3 separate regions of the Homo sapiens genome follow, and all the other regions are linked to region 3. The links are contacts of gene promoters, found by promoter capture Hi-C in blood cells and fetal thymus (Javierre and others, 2016). All regions are on one chromosome and are shown on one strand. The core of a region is centred on a gene start or on the middle of the fragment in contact, and the rest is flanking DNA. Distances in the headings are between cores, read along the strand shown. Region 1 has its middle 19 kb from the start of TTYH1. Region 2 holds the start of RPS9 (ribosomal protein S9). Region 3 holds the start of LILRB2 (leukocyte immunoglobulin like receptor B2).

Region 1 (2,700 bases), core at 151-2,650, 120 kb after region 3:
ACTCCTGACCTTGTGATCCGCCCGCTTCGGCCTCCCAAAGTGCTGGGATTACAGGCATGAGCCACTAGAGTCTCTTTGTGAAAAGGAATGGAAGGATGTGGTGTGATGCAGCACGCATCACCAGGTCCCTGTCATAAATTTGCTTTTGTGGCCGGGCGCGGTGGCTCACGCCTGTAATCCCAGCACTTTGGGAGGCTGAGGCAGGCGGATCCCCTGAGGTCAGGAGATCGAGACCAGCCTAGCCAACATGGCGAAACCCCATCTCTACTAAAAATACAAAAAATTAGCCGGGCGTGGTGGCAGGCACCTGTAGTCCCAGCCACTCGGGAGGCTGAGGCAGGAGAATAGTTTGAACCCGGGAGGCGGAACTTGCAGTGAGCCGAGATTGCTGCACTCCAGCCTGAGCGACAGAGCGAGACTCTGTCTCAAAACAAAACAAAAAAAGCTTACCCTCCATGATGCAGCAATCCCACTACTGGGTATATGCTCAAAGAAACTGAAACCAGTGTGTGGAAGAGATGTCTGCACCCCTATGTGTATTGCAGAGTTATTCACAATAGCCAACATATGGAATCACCTAAGTCTCCATCAGTGGACAATGGGTAAAGGAAATGTATATATACACAGTGGAAATACTATCCAGCCTTAGAAAGGAAGGAAACCCTGTCATTTACAGTATGGATGTAATTGTCAACCTTCAGGACATCATGCCACATGAAATAAGCCAGATACAGAAAGACAAATATCGCACAACCTCACTTATACATGGAATATTAAAAAGTTGAACTCAGGCCTTCGAGACTAGCCATGGCCAACATGGCAAAACCTACTCGGGAGGCTGGGCACGGTGGCTCACGCCTGTCAGCACTTTGGGAGACCAAGGCGGGCAGATCACCTGAGGTTGGGAGTTCGAGACCAGCCTGACCAATATGGAGAAACCCCGTCTCTACTAAAAATTCAAAATTAGCCAGGCGTGGTGGTGCATGCCTGTAATCCCAGCTACTCGGGAGGCTGAGGCAGGAGAATGGCTTGAACCTGGGAGGCGGAGGTTGCAGTGAGCCGAGATTGCGCCACTGCACTCCAGCCTGGGCGACAGAGTGAGACTCTGTCTCAAAAAAAAAAAAAAAAAAAAAGTTGAACTCACAGAAGCAGAGAGCGGAATGGTGGTGACCAGGGGCTTGGGAAGGGGAGTAGGGATTGGGAAGATCGTGGTCAGAGGGTACACAATTTTAGATAGAAAAAAATAAATTCAAGAGATCTGTTGTGCAACATGGTGACAAATTAGTGAAAATGTATTATGTACTTAAACATTGTTAGCAGAATAGATCGTAAGGGCTCTCGCCACACACGCAAAAATGACAACTATGTGGCCACGAACGGTGGCTCACACCTATAATCCAAGCACTTTGGGAGGCTGAGGCAAGTGGATCACTTGAGGTCAGCAGTTTGAGACCAGCCTGGGCAACATGGCCAAACCCCATCTCTACAAAAAATACAAAAATTAGCCAGACGTGGTGGCACACACCTGTAATCCCAGCTACTCGGGAGGCTGAGGCACAAGAATCACTTGACGTGGGAGGTGGAGTTTGCCGTGAGCTGAGATCGCACCACTGCACTCTAGGCTGAGTGACAGAATGAGACTCTGTCTCAGAAAAAAAAGTGAGGTGATGGATATGTTAAACATCTTGATTATGGTAATTATTTCACAATGTGTACATATGTCAAAACATCATGTTGTACACCTTAAATATATACACTTCTCTTTTTGAGACGGAGTCTCGCTCTGTCGCCCAGGCTGGAGTGCAGTGGCGCAATCTCGGCTCACTGCAATCTCCGCCTCCCGGCTTCACACCATTCTCCTGCCTCAGCCTCCCGAGTAGCTGGGACTACAGGCGCCCGGCTAATTTTTGTATTTTTTTTTTTAGTAGAGACGGGGTTTCACCGTGTTAGCCAGGATGGTCTCGATCTCCTGACCTTGTGATCCACCCGCCTCGGCCTCCCAAAATGCTGGGATTACAGGCATGAGCCACCGCGCCTGACCAAATATATACGCTTTTATTTGTCAATCATATCTCAATTAAGCCAGGAAAAAATTGGTAAGGCTACTTTTGGAAACACTTTGACACTATTTCAAAAAATTGAAACTAACAATCCCTATAGCGCAATCATTCCATTCTTATATGTATACTCTTTAAAAATTCTTGCACATATGCACCAAGAAACATGTAAAAAATGTCTGTTACGTAATAGGGAAAGTAAAATAAATAGAAATAGAAAAGTAACTAAAATAAAAGAAGCCCATGTGTTCATCAACAGGTACAAAAATACAAAAACTGTGATATAGACCTATATTGGAAAGCTTCAAACTATGGCATTGAAAATGATTTCACGAATCATTTCAAAAAAAAATTCATGGTTTCTGTTGTCATTTTTACCAAGTTCATTCCAATATGTGGTTTAGAGACACTATTTTAAACAAATAAGGGGCCAGGTGCAGTGGCTCACGCCTATAATCCCAGCACTTTGGGAGGCTGAGGCGGGCAGATCACCTGAGGTCAGGAGTTTGAGACCAGCCTGGACAACATGGTGAAACCCCGTCTCTACTGAAAATACAAGAATTAGCCAGGCATGGTGGTGCGCGCCTGTAATCCCAGCTCTTCGGGAGGCTGAGGCAGGAGAATTACTTGAACCTGGGAGGCA
Region 2 (2,856 bases), core at 80-2,579, 80 kb before region 3:
GGTAGGCGCTACCATCATTCGCCGTTTTACAGAGGAGGACGCTGAGGCACAGAGTGATTGAGAAACTTGTCGAAGGCACTGCAGCTGGCAAGTGGTGACGTGGCATTTGAATCCAGGCATCCGGATGGTGTGGATGCCGTGGAAGAGAAAGGGGCGGGTGGGACTGCTTCCTGAGGAGATAGTGACTGCCGAGGCAGCAGCGTAGGGAAGACAACTGAAGAACACGAGCTGTGGAGACAGACCATCGCATTCGGAGTGGAGAGATGGGTGTACAGACAGACAATAACCAGACTATATATAAAAAGAGAACTCTAGGTCAGGCGCGGTGGCTCACACCTGTAATCTTAGCACTTTGGGAGGCTGAGGCGGGTGGATCACTTGAGGTCAGGCGTTGGAGACCAGGAGTTCAAAACCCCGTCTCTACTAAAAATTTAAAAATTAGCCGGGCATGGTGGTGGGCGCCTGTAGTCCCAGCTTCTCGGGAGGCTGAGGCACGAGAATCGATTGAACCCGGGAAGCGGAGGTTGCAGTGAGCCGAGATCGCACCACTGCACTCCAGCCTGGGTGACGAGAGCGAAAAACTCCGTCTCAAAAATAAAATAAATTACTGATAATAGTACTAATACCCCTTAAGTGGCTATTGATAATAATAGTACCATGGGTGGGGGGGCAACTTCTCTGAGAGTGCTCTGTAAGTATGTATTGAAGATTGAGTAAATACATTTAAAATTCTTAGAACAGTATGTGGCACATAGCGTTCCAGAATGCCACATTATTGTTAGTGACAGAAATAATCTCGGCTGGGCGCGGTGGCTCACGCCTGTAATCCCAGCACTTTGGGGGGGCCACGGCGGGAGGCTCTCTCGAGGCCGGGAGTTCAAGACCAGCCTGGGCAACATGGCAAGACGCCGACTGTTAAAAAAAAAAAATGCTACCCGGGCGTCGTGGCGTGTGCCTGTAATCCCAGCTACTGGGGAGGAGGTGGGAGGATCGCTCGAGCCCGAGAGGTTGGTCGGGGCCTCAGTGAGCCGAAATCACGCCACTGCACTCCAGCCTGGGCGACGGAGCGAGACCCTGTCTCAGAAAGAAAAAGAAAAACCACCGTCCAGGGGCGGAGAAGGAAGGTTCTCCCTACTTCTCAGGTTTCCACTCCCTGGCCGGAAAAAACCTAGTCCTCCCAGGTTAGCACGCCGCTCTAGCCCAGCCTCACGTCTCCACTGCTTCTCAGCCAGCCAACGCCTCTTCTGATTGGCTCTGACGTGCGTGGTGCGTGAAAACGTCACGAGACGCCGGCGTTACTATAAGAGCGCAGCCGTGGCGCTTCCGCGCCTCTTTCTCAGTGACCGGGTGGTTTGCTTAGGTGAGGTGCGGTGGTGTGCTTTTTCTCTAGGGTTTGGGTTGGATGGTGGCCCGGGCCTTCCGAGTTTCCATGAGTAAGCTAAAGACGTTAGGAAACAGAGCAGGGTGGTTGAACGGGAGTGCAGCACGGTTGTGGGGGCAGATACTGACTATGAGAGCGTTGGAGGTTATTCTCGCGAGATCGGATCTGGGCTCCGCGAGGTTTTGGCGTAGTTGTGGGACTGCGCAGGCGCCGTTTGGATCCCTTACGCTCACACTTCTCTCCCGCGCAGGCGCAGACGGGGAAGCGGAGCCAACATGCCAGTGGCCCGGAGCTGGGTTTGTCGCAAAACTTATGTGACCCCGCGGAGACCCTTCGAGAAATCTCGTCTCGACCAAGAGCTGAAGCTGATCGGTGAGTGGCCAAGGCTTCCGGGAAGTGGTTCGGCTTCCGGGAGGCGGTTAGCACGTGGATGAAGGTGCCCATGTACTCTATCTAGTCCGTCCCCTAAATTTGGTACTATTCGTGGTTTAGGAAGGTTTTGTGATTCCAAAGCTGCCAGTCTAGTTGTTGTGCCAGTACGTGGGACTACACTTGTCCACCCCCTTCTCCCCACCAGGCGAGTATGGGCTCCGGAACAAACGTGAGGTCTGGAGGGTCAAATTTACCCTGGCCAAGATCCGCAAGGCCGCCCGGGAACTGCTGACGCTTGATGAGAAGGACCCACGGCGTCTGTTCGAAGGTGCGTATGGGAGTCCACAGCAGAGGGATGGGGTGCAGGGCTTGTGAGGTTCATTCTCCCTTCTGTTGCCTCTGTTCCAGTGATGAGAGTTGTGTCATTGGATAAATGGAACCAGCCTTCTAACTTTTAGTGGCACTTGTGGAGTAGGAAAAGTGTATCTGGATCAGTCTTTGCCCTGTTTCTTAGGTGTGTGGCTTTTTTGCCCAGTTATTGGACCTTCAGTTTAGTAATGACCAGAGCTAAAGATAGGCCTGGCACACCTGGGCACCCGTCTATATCTTTATATTCTGTTTATGTGGCCTGTTTGCTAGTGGATGAGAGTAGACTATGAAGTGGAATTTCTGGGCTAAGTGATGGTGATAACAGGGTTTGCACATTTGCTTGGTTTATTGTTTTTTTAATTAAGTTTTCTCGTTTTATTTAGTCTTTTGAGACGGAGTCTTGCTCTGTTGCCCAGGCTGGAGTGCCGTGGCGCCATTTCGGCTTACTGCAACCCCCGCCTCCTGGGTTCAAACAATTCTCCTATCTTAGCCTCCCAAGTAGCTGGGACTACAGACAGGCGCACGCCACCACACCTGGCTAATTTTACTTTTGAGACGGAGTCTCGCTCCATTGCCCATGCTGGAGTGTAGTTGTCGCAATCTTGGCTCACTGCAAACTCCGCCTCCAGAGTTCAAGCGATTCTCCTGTCTTAGCCTCCTAAGTAGCTGGAATCACAGGCATGGGCCACCAAGCCTGGCTAATTTTCTATTATTAGTGGAGATGGGTTTTCACC
Region 3 (3,083 bases), core at 540-3,039:
CAGACAATGCTGTGAATTTCTCACCTGGGACCAGGAGCTCCAGGAGATCACTGGGTGAAGACCACACATAGGGAGAGTTCAAGTCATAACCATAGCACCTGTGCGACCACCTGCGATTCGGGCTCACGGGGCCCACGGAGAAGATGGCGCGGGACGACCCACGGGCATGGGGCTGGGAGTTCAGGCATTGTGGGTGTTCATCTTCTCCTTCCTTACACAGAATGAAGCCGCCAAATGCCACCTGTGACTCACACTGGAGGGTCACCCTTCCTCCTGAGGTCACCACAGGGCTGGGCTGGGCTGAGAGGGTGGGTTTTGGGTAGGCTCCTAGGAGAGAAGGAGGCATCGTGTTAAATGGGGCTCCCACCTCCCACATCATCCCCAGGGCTGGGCTGTGAGAGGGAGACACCCCTGAGAGCCTCCTTCCTGAGGGCAGAGCCTGGGGCTGGGATCCCTGAGTGTCCTCTCACCTGTCATCACCAGCACCAGGGGGTCACTGAGCTCAGACCACCGAGCGCGGCTGTAATACTGACAGCCATATCGCCCTGTGTGTTCCCAGGTGATGGATGGGATGTGGAACTGGCCGTTCTTCACAAGCTCTGGTCGTATCCGTGTAATCCAAGATGCTGATTTTTTCTCCCTATATAGACGGTACTCCTGGGCTTCAAGGCTCCCCTGACAACTGAGGGTGACGGGACTCCCCTGGGTGATCACAGAGTCTGGCTCAGCCCACAGGGTGGGCTTGGGGATGGTCCCTGGAAGGAAATCAAAGGTCAGATTCGAAGTCATTTCCCACCCAACAGATCTCAGCTCTCAGCCCAGGACCCTCCAGATGCCCCCATCAGTCAGTCCAGAACTTCTAATCCCCATCCCCAGCTGCACGGAGGTGGCCCCTTGTCCCCAGTGAGGAGGAGGGACCTGGGAGAGCTGGGGACAGACTCACCTGTCTGCACGCGGGTCCTGGGGCCCAGACTCAGCCCTGGAAGAGAGTTCCCTGTGAGGGATTTGCCCCCTGAAGCCTGAGCAGGTCCTCCCCTCCCTGGGATCTTTGTGAGCCCCTGGGGTCTCCTTAGGGACCAGAGTTTGGCTGTGGGGTGAGGTCCCTCCTAGGTTAGAAGCTCCCCTCTCTCTTCAAATCTCACCGAGACAGATCAGGACTGTGACGATGGGGGTCATGGCGTCTCCTCCCACTGCCCTGCTCTGCGGATGGATGAGCCCTCGGTGCTGGCGGGACAGAGACACACAGAGAGAAATAGCCTCCCCTCCTTCCCACCCTGTGTGGACACTCAGAGGCTGGGTCCTTCTCATGGGGTGTTGTCATCTGCAGCCACACAAGAAGCGGAACTGCCCTCCCAGGAGCCTGACTCTCATTCTTTTAGAGCTGAGGTGGGGGCAGGCACTGGGCCCTCTGCAGACATTTCAGACTGTAATGGGGTCTTTCCTGACCCCCAGCCACTGTCTGTCTGGTTTCTCCTCGTCTCACCGAGAGCCGGGATGTAGCAGCAAATAGAACTGGTGCTTCTTGTGTCTGCCCTTCCTGATGAGGGTAGCAGTGGCTTCCCCTTCCTTCTCACAGCTTCCCACATGGTCACCCTCCCTCCTTCAGCCCATCCATCAGCACAGCGTTGTGGGGTCCTTACCATGGCAGTCGTCCCTCCAGCCCTGGAGATGCTTCAGGGAAGACCCAGGTCCATGCTGCAGGCAGACTCAGATCAGCAGAGAAGCATCTCGCCTCTGGCTGTGCTGTCCAGGTTGAGCTGTGTGTGGCAGTGAGCACAGAGGAGAAATGCAGGGAAGTAGGGGAAGAAAAGTTGACTTCTTTCTTGACACTGGATTGTGGGTTTTCTTTCAACCAAATAGTCCCCTCTTAACTTCCCCTTTTTAAATGTTTTTGCTCCAGCGTCCACTCCCTCCCCCCCGGGAAGAAACCTCTGAGTCTTTCCTGCCTCCTCGGTGCCCATTGCGTCCTTAGCCGTCCCTCTGCACCTCAATTCCTGGTCAACATTTTGGGAACAATGACTTATGTTTGAGCTTTGATTTGGGGAGTGGGGGAGGGAGTTGATATTTATTTGATGACTGGTTATCATCCGCTGCCTACGTGACCTTGGTTTGTAATGTCCCATCACTGAGCCTCAGTTTCTTCCTTTGCAGATTGTTGTCATGAATCCCACTCGTCACAGTGGTTGTGGGGTCAGTGGTGCCTGGGACATTGGGAGGGGCTCATTTGTGCTTGATTTCCAGACCAGGGTAAGACCTGAGGCTTTGGGACGTGAGAGGATCTTGCTGTTGGACTCCACATTCTGTAGGTGATTGATGAGTCCACTCAAGATGTCACATCTGACCGTAATGGAGAAACGTATGTGTAGCATTTCTGAAATACCCAGAGTATCAAGGTCATGAGCAGAAAAAGACATGTGGAAACCCCAAGTGTAGACGGACTCACAAGAAAGAACAGAGGCCAGAGGTGAGATGCCACAGGGTCCCGGGACCATCAAGGGCTCATTAGGGTGGAGGTTTCCACCACTGAGTGGAGCCGGGAGAGGAACCCCGGGATCTGCAATGACAGTGAGGGGCTCAGGGCTCCAGACCAAGGTGGGAGGCTGCGTCCTCTAGCTACACCTGAGGCTGGAGTGGACCCCAAGCAGCCCAGGGGAATTCCCTCAAGGGAGTGCACCAAACTGTCCAGACCTGCTGGAATTCCAAGGAAAGAAGCACTAAACACCAGGGTGTTCATAGAGCATTTATTAGGGGGACCTCTGCACAGTGGGGCATCCTTGTCTTCTTGCCCAGTGTCTCCTTGTGGATCTCAAGGATGTGCTTCCACATAGCAGCATGTTCTTCAGATGGACAAGGAGACACTGGGTATTCTATCCAAAGCTTTAACCTAAAATAAAAACAAAACCAAAAATAAACCCCTAGAAAATATGATCTCTCAGTACAGTTGTTTCTTGGGATACACAGGCAATTCGTTTCAGTACCCCCTACATGTACCAACACTTGCTCGTACTCCAGCCCTGACGTTGTCTCTGCTGGGTCTGCATATAGGAAAAGTCTGCCGTTCATATACGCAAGTCTTGTTTCTC

The links. The method cuts DNA at HindIII sites, captures the fragments that hold promoters and counts their contacts. A CHiCAGO score of 5 or more calls a contact.
Region 1: a contact is called between a fragment that was not itself captured here and the fragment with the promoter of LILRB2 in region 3, in 4 of 17 cell types (total B cells, naive B cells, neutrophils and 1 more). The highest score is 9.8, in total B cells.
Region 2: the fragment with the promoter of RPS9 here is called in contact with the fragment with the promoter of LILRB2 in region 3 in 2 of 17 cell types (neutrophils and monocytes); the score reaches 7.3 in neutrophils.

The regions. Positions count from the first base shown.
Region 1 is chr19:54,395,412-54,398,111 of GRCh38, forward strand. No RefSeq gene overlaps it. Among named protein-coding and RNA genes, the nearest start is that of TTYH1, 19 kb to the right of the region's middle. The HindIII fragment of the contact is 1,914 bases long and covers 444-2,357 here.
Region 2 is chr19:54,199,529-54,202,384 of GRCh38, forward strand. It overlaps RPS9 (ribosomal protein S9), which reads left to right and starts at 1,330. Exons shown (of 5, transcript NM_001013.4): 1 at 1,330-1,360; 2 at 1,632-1,753; 3 at 1,959-2,081. The coding sequence starts at 1,657. RefSeq lists an enhancer at 718-1,387 and a silencer at 1,150-1,643. The HindIII fragment of the contact is 3,345 bases long and covers 1-2,856 here.
Region 3 is chr19:54,279,321-54,282,403 of GRCh38, forward strand. LILRB2 (leukocyte immunoglobulin like receptor B2) reads right to left here and starts at 1,790. Exons shown (of 14, transcript NM_001080978.4): 1 at 1,641-1,790; 2 at 1,143-1,224; 3 at 944-979; 4 at 471-755; 5 at 25-327. The coding sequence starts at 1,176. It overlaps MIR4752 (microRNA 4752), which reads left to right and starts at 2,789; the gene lies at 2,789-2,860. RefSeq lists an enhancer at 1-903. The HindIII fragment of the contact is 13,229 bases long and covers 1-2,875 here.